Linked DNA regions of Homo sapiens: region 1 is linked to region 2. The links are contacts of gene promoters, found by promoter capture Hi-C in blood cells and fetal thymus (Javierre and others, 2016). All regions are on one chromosome and are shown on one strand. Each heading gives the region's core, a stretch centred on a gene start or on the middle of the fragment in contact. The rest is flanking DNA. Distances are from core to core; before and after follow the strand shown. Region 1 overlaps GLB1 (galactosidase beta 1). Region 2 holds the start of CNOT10-AS1 (CNOT10 antisense RNA 1).

Region 1 (4,997 bases), core at 536-3,035, 290 kb before region 2:
TTTTGAGACAGAGCCTTGCTCTGTCACCCAGGCAACTTCCACCTCCCTGGTTCAAGTGATTCTCTTGCCTCAGCCTCCCGAGTAGCTGGGATTACAAGCGCACACCAATGCACGTGGCTAATTTTTGTATTTTTAGTAGAGACGGAGTTTCGCCATGTTGGCCAGGCTGGTCTCAAACTCCTGACCTCAAGTGATCCACCCGCCTTGGCCTCCCAAAGTGCTGGGATTACAGGTGTAAGCCACCGCACCCAGCCAGTGGGCTCTTTCTTATGAGACTTTGTAGACATTCCATTAGCTGATTTGTTAAATGATCTTCAAAATATTTGCTTGCATCAAGTAAAGGAAATTGGATGGTAGATATCCCCTGTATATAGCTCTACCTGCCTCCTTCCTTCATCAAAGACTCAAAAAGCGGAATATGTCTCCTCTGTAATCCATTTCAAGAACACATTAGGTGGTGATGGGCAATATATTTCACTGACATGGACTCCTGGGGATAATCTCCCAGCAGGCTGCATAAGCCTGTGCTCAGTGGTGAAGGCCCCCAGGCGGTTGTCTTCATATGAATCTTCAAGGCATGGCAAAGCTCATGACATTTGCATTTTAAAAGGTATTTGCTTTGGTGTGGGTAAAACTCAACCAAACATGGTTAACACTTTGACCTCGAGGATGAACCATAAAAATATAGGGCAGCGACCTCCTCTTCCCTACTGATTCCTGAGAGGGGCAGTGGTGAGTTTATTTTTGTATGCTGTCAAATCAACTTAAGACCCATTTTAAGAGTTTTGTTTCTGTTCTTTATAGGGATTCCATCAACGTAAGAGTTCCGCTGATGTTTTGGAAATGGGTCACTGTAGAAATTAATCAAGTGGTAGTGAGGACCTTGATAATTGGAGTGGATTCTGGGATTCCCAAAGGTAGTAACTGGGCTGAGTGGTGAAGAGGGGATGGGAGAACAGCCACAGTGATTTTTTCTGTACTTCAAAAGCTTAATGAAGTTTGAAATTTGATCCAGGATTTGTCTACACTGGCTGATTGATCATCCTGCACTGTTTATGACTGGAATGACATTGGCTTGATACGCAGACACAGCTGTCTCTTGCTGATGTATAGTGCTGGTGAAAACCAGTGTTTTATGTCTGATGGTTACAGATGAGAAAGGCAATATTACTTAGCAACTGTTAAATAGTCTTTTAAAGTGTCACCTGCTCTCTTGTAGTACTGGTCTCTTCGTTTCCTGTAGAGTTGGCTTTTCTAGTCCCTCTCCCAGAGTGATTTCTCTAAAACACTGATGTGATCGCTTCTCAGTCTTTTGGCTAAGATCAAGTGTAGTATCTAAAACACTGATGTGGTCAGGATACCTTCCATGACTTGGCCCCTATATTTTTCCAGCCTCATCTTTCAATTCTCCCTTCTTAGATGTGACTTCCTGGCCTTAAGTTGGAGCTATATACAATTCCATGAATGAAACAGCACTGTTTATACCTCCTGGTCTCTGCACCCTCTGCCTTTATTCACCTGGAAATGAAGACACACCTCAGTTACCTTATCTGCAGAGTCTTCTTTGACCCACTTGTCAGCCAAGTTAGTCACATTTTGTTTTCTATCACTTATGTTGTAGAAATCTTTTAAACATTACTTTTCTTTTTTTTTTTTTTTCTTAACTTTTAGGTTCATGGGTACATGTGCAAGATTGTTGTGTAGGTTAACTGTGTGTCACAGGGGTTTGGTATACAGATTATTTTGTCACCCAGGTAATAAGCATAGTACCTGATAGGTCATTCTTTGATCCTCTGCCTCCTCCTACCTACCACCCTCAAGTAGGCCCTGATGTCTGTTCCCCTCTTTGTGTCCATGTGTTCTCATCATTTAGCTCCCACTTATAAGTGAGAATGTGCAGTATTTGGTTTTCTGTTCCTGCATTAGTTTGCTTAGGATAATGGCCTCCAGCTCCATCCATGTTGCTGCAAAGGACATGATCTTGTTTCTTTTTTATGGCTGCATAGTATTCCATGGTGTATATATGCCACATTTTCTTTATCCAGTCTACCATTGATTGTCATTTAGGTTGATTCCGTGTCTTTACTAGTGAAAATACTACTTTTTGTGGTGTATTAATATAACTGATTTATACACATTTCTCACTCTCTGGAATAGGTTTATAAGTCTAGTACCAAGCATAGGACCTGACACAGAGTACTTTCTTAATAAGAGTTTGTTGGATGAATGTATGAAAACATTAGAGGTCTTGGTGAAGGAAAAGCTGGTCACCATTGAATCTAGTGGATTCCACAGGGAAAAGAGCAGCTTCCCGTGTTGAATGTGTCCGGTTAAGTATGAGAAGCAACATTTCTGATTGCTCTGAAAAGTATGATTAAAGCACAAATTATTATGGAAAAATAATGGTTTAGAAGTATAGCATTTTGGTATATTTGTTCATTTCTTTTCTGAAACATTAATTAGCTAAGGTAAAGATGAGGATTTTGCTATATGATAATCAAACTAGTATCAATGAAAATCATCAATATTAAAATGAAAAGTTAGAAAATTGTAGTAAATGGGATAGACAGATGAAAGCTTAATATCTGTATTATAATGAGCTAATATCACTGATCAGAATATCAAGATCTACATAGAAAATTGGGTAAATGATGACCAGGCGCAGTGGCTCACGCCTGTAATCCCAGCACTTAGGCCGAGGCGGGCGGATCACCTGAGGTCAGGAGTTTGAGACCAGCCTGACCAACATGGAGAAAACCCGTTTCTACTAAAAATACAAAAAATTAGCCAGGCGTGGTGGTGCATGCCTGTAATCCCAGCTACTCGGGAGGCTGAGGCAGGAGAATCGCTGGAACCTGGGAGGTGGAGGTTGCAGTGAGCCGAGATTGTGCCATTGCACTCCAGCCTGGGCAACAAGAGCGAAACTCCGTATCAAAAAAAAAAAAAAAATTTTTGGGTAAATGACATAAGCAAGTATGGATACTTGATGAAAATGTGAGTATACACTATTTTAAGAGTCTTATACTCATATCCTTTGACCTAGTCACCCCACACTCAGAGTGTTACTTTTAAAAAATAAAAATTTAAAAGGATAATGCTATAGACATGAAGTTTGAGACTCCATCTCAAAAAAACAAAACGAGAAAAAAGAGGCGACATAGGGTAATATGCTAATTGATGGAACTAATAAATAAAGATATAAGGATATTATTTTAAAGGTACAAAGATAACTAGGAGAGAAGCTGAAAATGGTGATATAACCATAATAGCAAGAAAGGAAGATAAACTTTCTTTATCTTCTGGGCTGTACTCTCATGTGTTAAAGAAATCAATGATAAGAAAAAGCAGTACACATATATTACTTAGAGACCAGAAGAAGCAAAAATAGGAACAATTAAATAATCTTAAAATGTGCTGGGCGTGGTAGCTCACACCTGTAATTCCAGCACTTTGGTAGGCCAAGGTGGGAGGATCGCTTGAGTTCAGGAGTTCGAGACCAGGCTAGGCAACATAGTGAGACCCCATTTCTACAAAAATAAAAATAAAAATTAGCAGGTCATGGTGGTGCATGCCTATAGTCCCAGCTACTCAGGAGGCTGAGACAGGAGGATCACTGGAACTCAGGAGGTTGAGGCTGCAGTGAGCCGTGATTGTGCCACTGTACTTCAGCCTGGGCAACAGCCTATCTCAAAACAAAATAATAAAAAATGATAATTTTTAAATGGCTTCCTCTGAAAGAACTAAGAGAAAAGTGAGGCAGGGGACTGTTGCTTTTCACTATAACAGTCTTTTGTCCTCCTCTTTTTATTTATTTTATTTTATATTTTATTTTTTGAGATAGAATCTCACTCTGTCACCCAGGCTGGAGTGCAGTGGTGCAATCTCAGCTCACTGCAACCTCCGCCTCTCAGGTTCAAGCGATTTTCATGTCTCAGCCTCCCAAGTAGCTGAGACTACAGGCATGTGCCACCATGCCTGGCTAATTTTGTATTTTTAGTAGAGATGGGGTTTCACCACGTTGGCCAGGCTGGTCTTGAACTCCTGACCTCAAGTGATCTGCCTGCCTCGGCCTCCCAAAGTGCTGGGAATATAGGCGTGAGCCGGGTGTCACTTTTCTGGCTGGAAACCTCTGTGGCCTGTGGCGCCTTTGCCCGAGTTTTGCTCGGGCCCACTGGGTTCGTTCTGCCCACTCGGCCTGGCAGGCTGCACTCGGTTCATGCTTCCTGCCTGGATCCCATACCTGCCAAGGGCAAGTCAGGCATAAAGCGGCAAGGGGTGTGTGAGCAAGCGTGGGGTTGAGCCACTGTGCACGGTCAGACACGCTGGCTGCTGCTGCTGCAGGGTGAGCAGCTCCAGGTTGCCCGCACAGGCGCCAGCCCTCTGCAAGGCTGCAGCTGGACCAGGTGCACTGCAGACAGCTTCTCTGGCTGGCATCAGGGTATGCAATAGTGCCCAGAAGCTTGGAGATGCCAGGAACCACAGGGCCCCAAAGAGAGAGTCACAGCCCCAGCTCGGGTAGCTCCCAGGTCTGGGCTCCCCAAAGGACCATAGCTCTTCTCTCCTTTTCCCCCACAACGTGGTGAGCAAGGGGCATGTTTCAGCCCTATTTGTGTTACAGCTCTTTTAGCCTCACCATTCAGCGGATCTTGAGTTCTTGTCCTACATCCAGGAAGAATGAGGTATACAGACAAGTGGAGGGTGAGCAAGATGAAGAGTAGCTTTATTGAGCGATAGAACAGCTCAGAGGAGGCCCACAGTGGATAGCTTGTCTCCATAGCCAGGGTGTCCCAGCGAGTGTTCAGCTCTCAGCAGAGAGGGTAGTGCCTCTCTGTGGGTAGATTGTCCCATCCTCCCTCCATCCTCTCAGCAGAGAGGATAGTTTCTCTCTGCAGCTGATTGTCTCCCCTTGTCTCTCCATCTTCTGGTCTTGCTGAGCCAGCAGTTGTTATGGGCTTCAGTGGGGAGGAGGTGCTGCTTGGACCATGGCGGCCATTGGC
Region 2 (5,357 bases), core at 1,981-4,480:
GTTTCACCGTGTTAGCTAGGATGGTCTCGATCTCCTGACCTTGTGATCCACCCGCCTCGGCCTCCCAAAGTGCTGGGATTGCAGGCATGAGCCACCGCGCCCAGCCACAAAATTTTAAAAAAATTTTAAGAAATTGAATGTAATGAAAATATTGTAAAACAAAAAAAGTTCTGTATCTTTACTGTATCAATGTCAATATCTTGACTGTGATATTGTACTAAAGTTCTTTTTTTGTTTTGAGACAGAGTCTGTTGTCTAGGCAATAGCACGATCTTGGCTCACTGCAACCTCCCTCCGCCTCCCCGGTTGAAGCGATTCCCCTGCTTCAGCCTCTCGAATAGCTGGGACTACAGGCACACGCCACCACACTCAGCTAATTTTTGTATTTTTAGTAGAGATGGGGTTTCACCATATTGGTCAGGCTAGTCTTGAACTCCTGACCTCGTGATCCGCCCACCTCGGCCTCCCAAAGGGCTGGGATTACAGGCATGAGCCACCGCACCCAGCATGTACTAAAGTTCTGTAAGAAGTTGCCTTTGAGAAAACTGGGTAGAGGGTAGATGAGGTCTCTGTATTATTTTTTATTTTTAGAGACAGAGCCTCGATCTGTCATCCTTGCTGGAGTTTGATGGTACAATCACAGCTTACTGCAGCCATGACCTCCAGGGCTTAAAGTGATCCTCCCACCTCAGCCTGCCAGCTACCTGGAACCACAGGCATGCAACATCACGCCCAGATAATTTTTTTTCTTTTTTTCTTTCGAGACGGAGTTTCACTCTTGTTGCCCAGGCTGGAGTGCAACGGCGCGGTCTTGGCTTACTGCAACTTCTGCCTCCTGGGCTCAAGTGATTCTCCAGCCTCAGCCTCCCAAGTAGCTGGAATTACAGGCACCCGCCACCACACCTGGCCAACTTTTGTATTTTTAGGAGAGATGGGGTTTCACCATGTTGGCTAGGCTGATCTCGAACTCCTGACCTCAGCTGATCTGCCTGCCTCTGCAGCCCACCAATGTGCTGGGATCACAGGCATGAGCCACTGCACCTGGCCTAATTTTTTGATTTTTTTAGAGACAGGGTCTCACCATGTTGCCCAGGTATCTGTATTACTTTTTAGACTATTATGTGAATCTACAATCGTCTCTAAATGAAGTTTAATTTTGAAAAAAAAGACACTATGGAGTGAAATAAACAAATAAAACATAACTGTTTGTGGAAGGAAGTCACAGCAGGCTTAAAGGGAACTGTGTAGAAAAGGACCTTTATCTAAAAATCAGTGACCAGCATAAGAAGTTAAAAAAAGAGCAAAATAAACCAGAGTTAGTAGAAGAATAAAATAAAGAGCAGAAACGAAATAGAAAACAGAAAATGAAGTAGAAGTCTATTCTCTGAAAACATCAATCCAATATGTAAATTGCTAGCAGGATTGCTTAGGGAAGAAAGGAGAGAAAGCAAGAGATCCCACAAATATCACAAATGAAAACTGGCCGGGCGCAGTGGCTCATGCCTGTAATCCCAAAACTTTGGGAGGCTGAGGCGGGTGGATCACCTGAGGTCAGGAGTTCGAGACCAGCCTGGCTAACATGGTAAAACCCCGTCTCTACTAAAAACACAAAAATTTAGCCAGGCGTGCTAGCAGGCACCTGTAATCCCAGCTTCTTAGGAAGCTGAGGCAGGAGAATCGCCTGAAACTGGTAGGCAGAGGTTGCAGTGAGCCGAGATCATACCACTGCACTCCACCCTGGGACAGAGAGTAAAACTCCAACTCAAAAAAAAAAAAAAGAAAGAAAATAGAGGTATAACTGCAGATTCTACAGACATTAAAAAGGTAAAAAAAATATTATGAACAATGTTATGCCAATAAATTTGACAACTTAGAAAATTCCTTGAAAAATAAAACTTAACCAAACTGAGATAAGATGAAATACAGGCCGGATGCTGTGGCTCACGCCTGTAAACCCAGCACTTTGGGAGGCCGAGGTGGGTGGATCACGACGTCAGGAGATCGAGACCATCCTGGCTAACACGGTGAAACCCTGTCTCTACTAAAAATACAAAAAATTAGCCCTGTGTGGTGGCAGGCGCCTGTAGTCCCAGCTACTCGGGAGGTTGAGGCAGGAGAATGGTGTGAACCCAGGAGGCGGAGCTTGCAGTGAGCCGAGATCGCGCCACTGCACTCCAGCCTGGGAGACAGAGCGAGAATCCATCTCAAAAAAAAAAAAAAAGAAATATAAAATCTGAAAAAAGTGTTGTTGAACAAGTTGAATTCATTATCAAAAATCTTCCTGCAAAGAAAATCCTAGGCTAGATGGTTTCACTGGTGCATTCTATCAAATACTTAAGGAAGAAGTAATACCTGTCCTTTTTATTAGTTCAGGGCTACATGTGCAGGTTTGTTATATGGTAAACTTGTGTCATGGGGGTTTGTTGTACAGATTATTTTGTCACCCAGGTACTAAGCCTAGTACCCAATAGTTATTTTTTCTGATCCTCTACCACCCTCCACCCTCCAGGAGGCCTTAGCGCCCGTTGTTCCCCTCTTTGTGTCCATGAGTAATACCTATCTTACACAGACTCTTGCAGAAAACAGAGGAAGATGAAGCACTTCTCAACTCATTTATATGGTCAGCATAATCCTGAAACCAAATCTGACAAAATCATTTCTAGGAAAGAAAAGTATGGACCAATCTTCCTCACGGATATAGAAGCACTTATTCCCAACAAAGTATTAACAAATCAAATCTAAAAATTTATACAAAAGAAAATACATTCTGACCAAGTAGGGTTTATCACAAGATTGAAAGATTGGTTTAACATTTGATCAGTGTAATTCATCATATTAACAGTATCAACAAGATAAAAAAGAATGTGTTCTTTTTTTTTTTGAGACAGAGTTGCTCAGGCTAGAGTGCAGTGGCACACTCACTGCAACCTCCGCCTCCCGGGTTCAAGCAATTCTCCTGCCTCAGCCTCCCAAGTAACTGGGATTACAGGCGCCTGCCACCACGCCCGGTTAATTTTTGTATTTTTAGTACAGACAGGGTTTCACTATCTTGGCCAGGCTGGTCTCGAACTCCTGACCTAGTGATCCACCAGCCTCGGCCTCCCAAAGTGCTGGGATTAGAGGTATGAGCCACTGTGCCCAGCCATGAATATGTTCATTTCAATAGATGCAATGCTAATTTTGTTTAGATACTCACTTTAAGTTTTCTAATTCCTGTTTTCTCAATGGAGAAGAAGGTGGAGCTGGAATGAATTTATCTCCATCATGGCTTTTACTGCTAAAATAGAGGTAAGAGTCTTAATTATGAAGAGCAACAAATAAATAATTAAACGTAAAATTTTGTTTCCCTGTCCTTACTCCCAACTTTTTTTTTGAGACAGAGTTTTGCTCGTCGCTCAGGATGGAGTGCAATTGCACGATCTCAACTCACTGCAACCTCTGCCTCCCAGGTTTGAGTGATTCTCCCGCCTCAGCCTCCCAAGTAGCTGGGATTACAGGCGCACACCACCACGCCCAGCTAATTTTTTGTATTTTTAGTAGAAACGGGGTTTCACCATGTTAGCAAGGCTGGTCTCGAACTCCCGACCTCAGGTGATCCACCTGCCTTGGCCTCCCAAAGTGCTAGGATTTACAGAGGTGTCTCACCTCGCCCGGCCTCCCATGTAACTTTTTACAACAAAAGTGTAAAAGAGTTAAACAATGGAAATACTTAGTAATTTGGTAACACTAACATGTTAAAGCTATATTGTATATTAGTTTCTTCCCCCACTGCCCCCACCCCTCCAATACTGCTTTAAAAAATCTCTAACTGAAAACAGTATCTTTACTACAAAAGGGAAATAACTGAATATTTTCGCGCATTTCTCATTATTCTAATTACCCTGACCCCTCAACCCCTGCCTTTTCTTGAGACTGGGTTTTTGAGACTGTTGCCCAGGCTGGAGTGCAGTGTGGCATGATCATAGCTCACTGCAGCTTCAAACTCCTGGGCTCAGGCGATCCTCCTACACCAGCCTCCCAAGTAGCTGGTACTAATGGTGCCTGGCACCACACTCAACTAATTTTTTTATTTCTTGTAGAGATGGGGTCTCATTATGTTGGACAGGCTAGCTTCGAACTCCTAGCTTCAAGCAATCCTTCAGCCTTGGTCTCCCTTAGCACTGGGATTACAGGTGTGAGCCACCATGCCTGGCCCAAATTTTCTATAGTAAATATGTATTGATTGCTATTATAATCAAGAAAAAATGCTGGGATGGGAGATGTAAGTTTAACGATGCCATGTATAAAAAGCAGAATTTCCAGCTGGGTGTAGTGGCTCATGCCTGCAATCTCAGCACTCTGGGAGGCCGAGGAGGGAGGATCACTTGAGGTAAGGAGTTCAAGACCATCCTGGACAACATGGCAAAACCCTATCTCTACTAAAAATACAAAAATTAGCCGGGCATAGTGGCGCTGGGCCTATAATCCCAGCTATTTAGGGGGTTGAGGCAGGAGAATCGCTTGAGCCTGTGAGGTGGAGGTTGCAGTGAGTTGAGATCGTGCCACTGCTTTCCAGCCTGGGTGACAGAGGGAGACTCTGTCTCAAAAACAAACAAACAAACAAAAAACAAAACAAAAAGAAAACAAAAGAAAAGAAAGAAAGAAAAAAGCTGAATTCCCTATATATAATGGTATGTGTTTTGTCCTTACCAAAAGTTCTCCCAATTTCTATAGTCACATAATTTTTATTTACTTATTTTTAATTTTTTTGAAGAGATGGGGTCTTGCTATGCTGCCCAGACTAGACTTGAACTCTTGGCCTCCTCCAGCACCCTGCCTAGATTTGCATAATTTTGAATTTATACTAGAAAACCAGAAATATACAAAAATATTCTGGAGGTTAGTGATTATAGTATATTAAGAGGATAGACAGAGGATAATAAGAAATAAGCAGCTTTAGGAGTCAAGTGTTTATTTTAATAAATTTTCTGTTTTTTTGAGATGGAGTCTCATTCTGTCACCAGGCTGGATGGAGTGCAGTGGCATGATCGTGGCTCACTGCAACCTCTGCCTCCCGGGTTCAAGTAATTCTCTTGCCTCAGCTTTCCCAGTAGTGGGGATTATAGGTGCCCACCACCACGCCCAGCTAATTTTTGTATTTTTAGTAGAGACGGGGTTTCACCATGTTGGCCAGCTGGTCTTGAACTCCTAACCTCAAGTGATCTACCCATCTTGGCCTCCCAAAGTGCTGGGATTACAGGCGTGAGCCCCCACACCTGGCCAAATTTTTTTTAAAGCTGTCTGACAACAGGACTTCTTACAAATATCCCTCTTGTCAATGAAAAGCTGCTACTTTCTTTTTTGAGATGAAGTCTCAC

Evidence for each region. The method cuts DNA at HindIII sites, captures the fragments that hold promoters and counts their contacts. A CHiCAGO score of 5 or more calls a contact.
Region 1: a contact is called between a fragment that was not itself captured here and the fragment with the promoter of CNOT10-AS1 in region 2, in 1 of 17 cell types (M1 macrophages). The highest score is 5.2, in M1 macrophages.

Annotation. Positions count from the first base shown.
Region 1 is chr3:33,026,619-33,031,615 of GRCh38, reverse strand. The region is part of intron 10 of GLB1 (galactosidase beta 1); the gene reads left to right. Among named protein-coding and RNA genes, the nearest start is that of GLB1, 68 kb to the left of the region's middle. The HindIII fragment of the contact is 1,589 bases long and covers 991-2,579 here.
Region 2 is chr3:32,735,330-32,740,686 of GRCh38, reverse strand. It overlaps CNOT10-AS1 (CNOT10 antisense RNA 1), which reads left to right and starts at 3,230. Exons shown (of 2, transcript NR_046718.1): 1 at 3,230-3,288. CNOT10 (CCR4-NOT transcription complex subunit 10) reads right to left here. Exons shown (of 19, transcript NM_015442.3): 13 at 3,197-3,277. The HindIII fragment of the contact is 21,232 bases long and covers 1-5,357 here.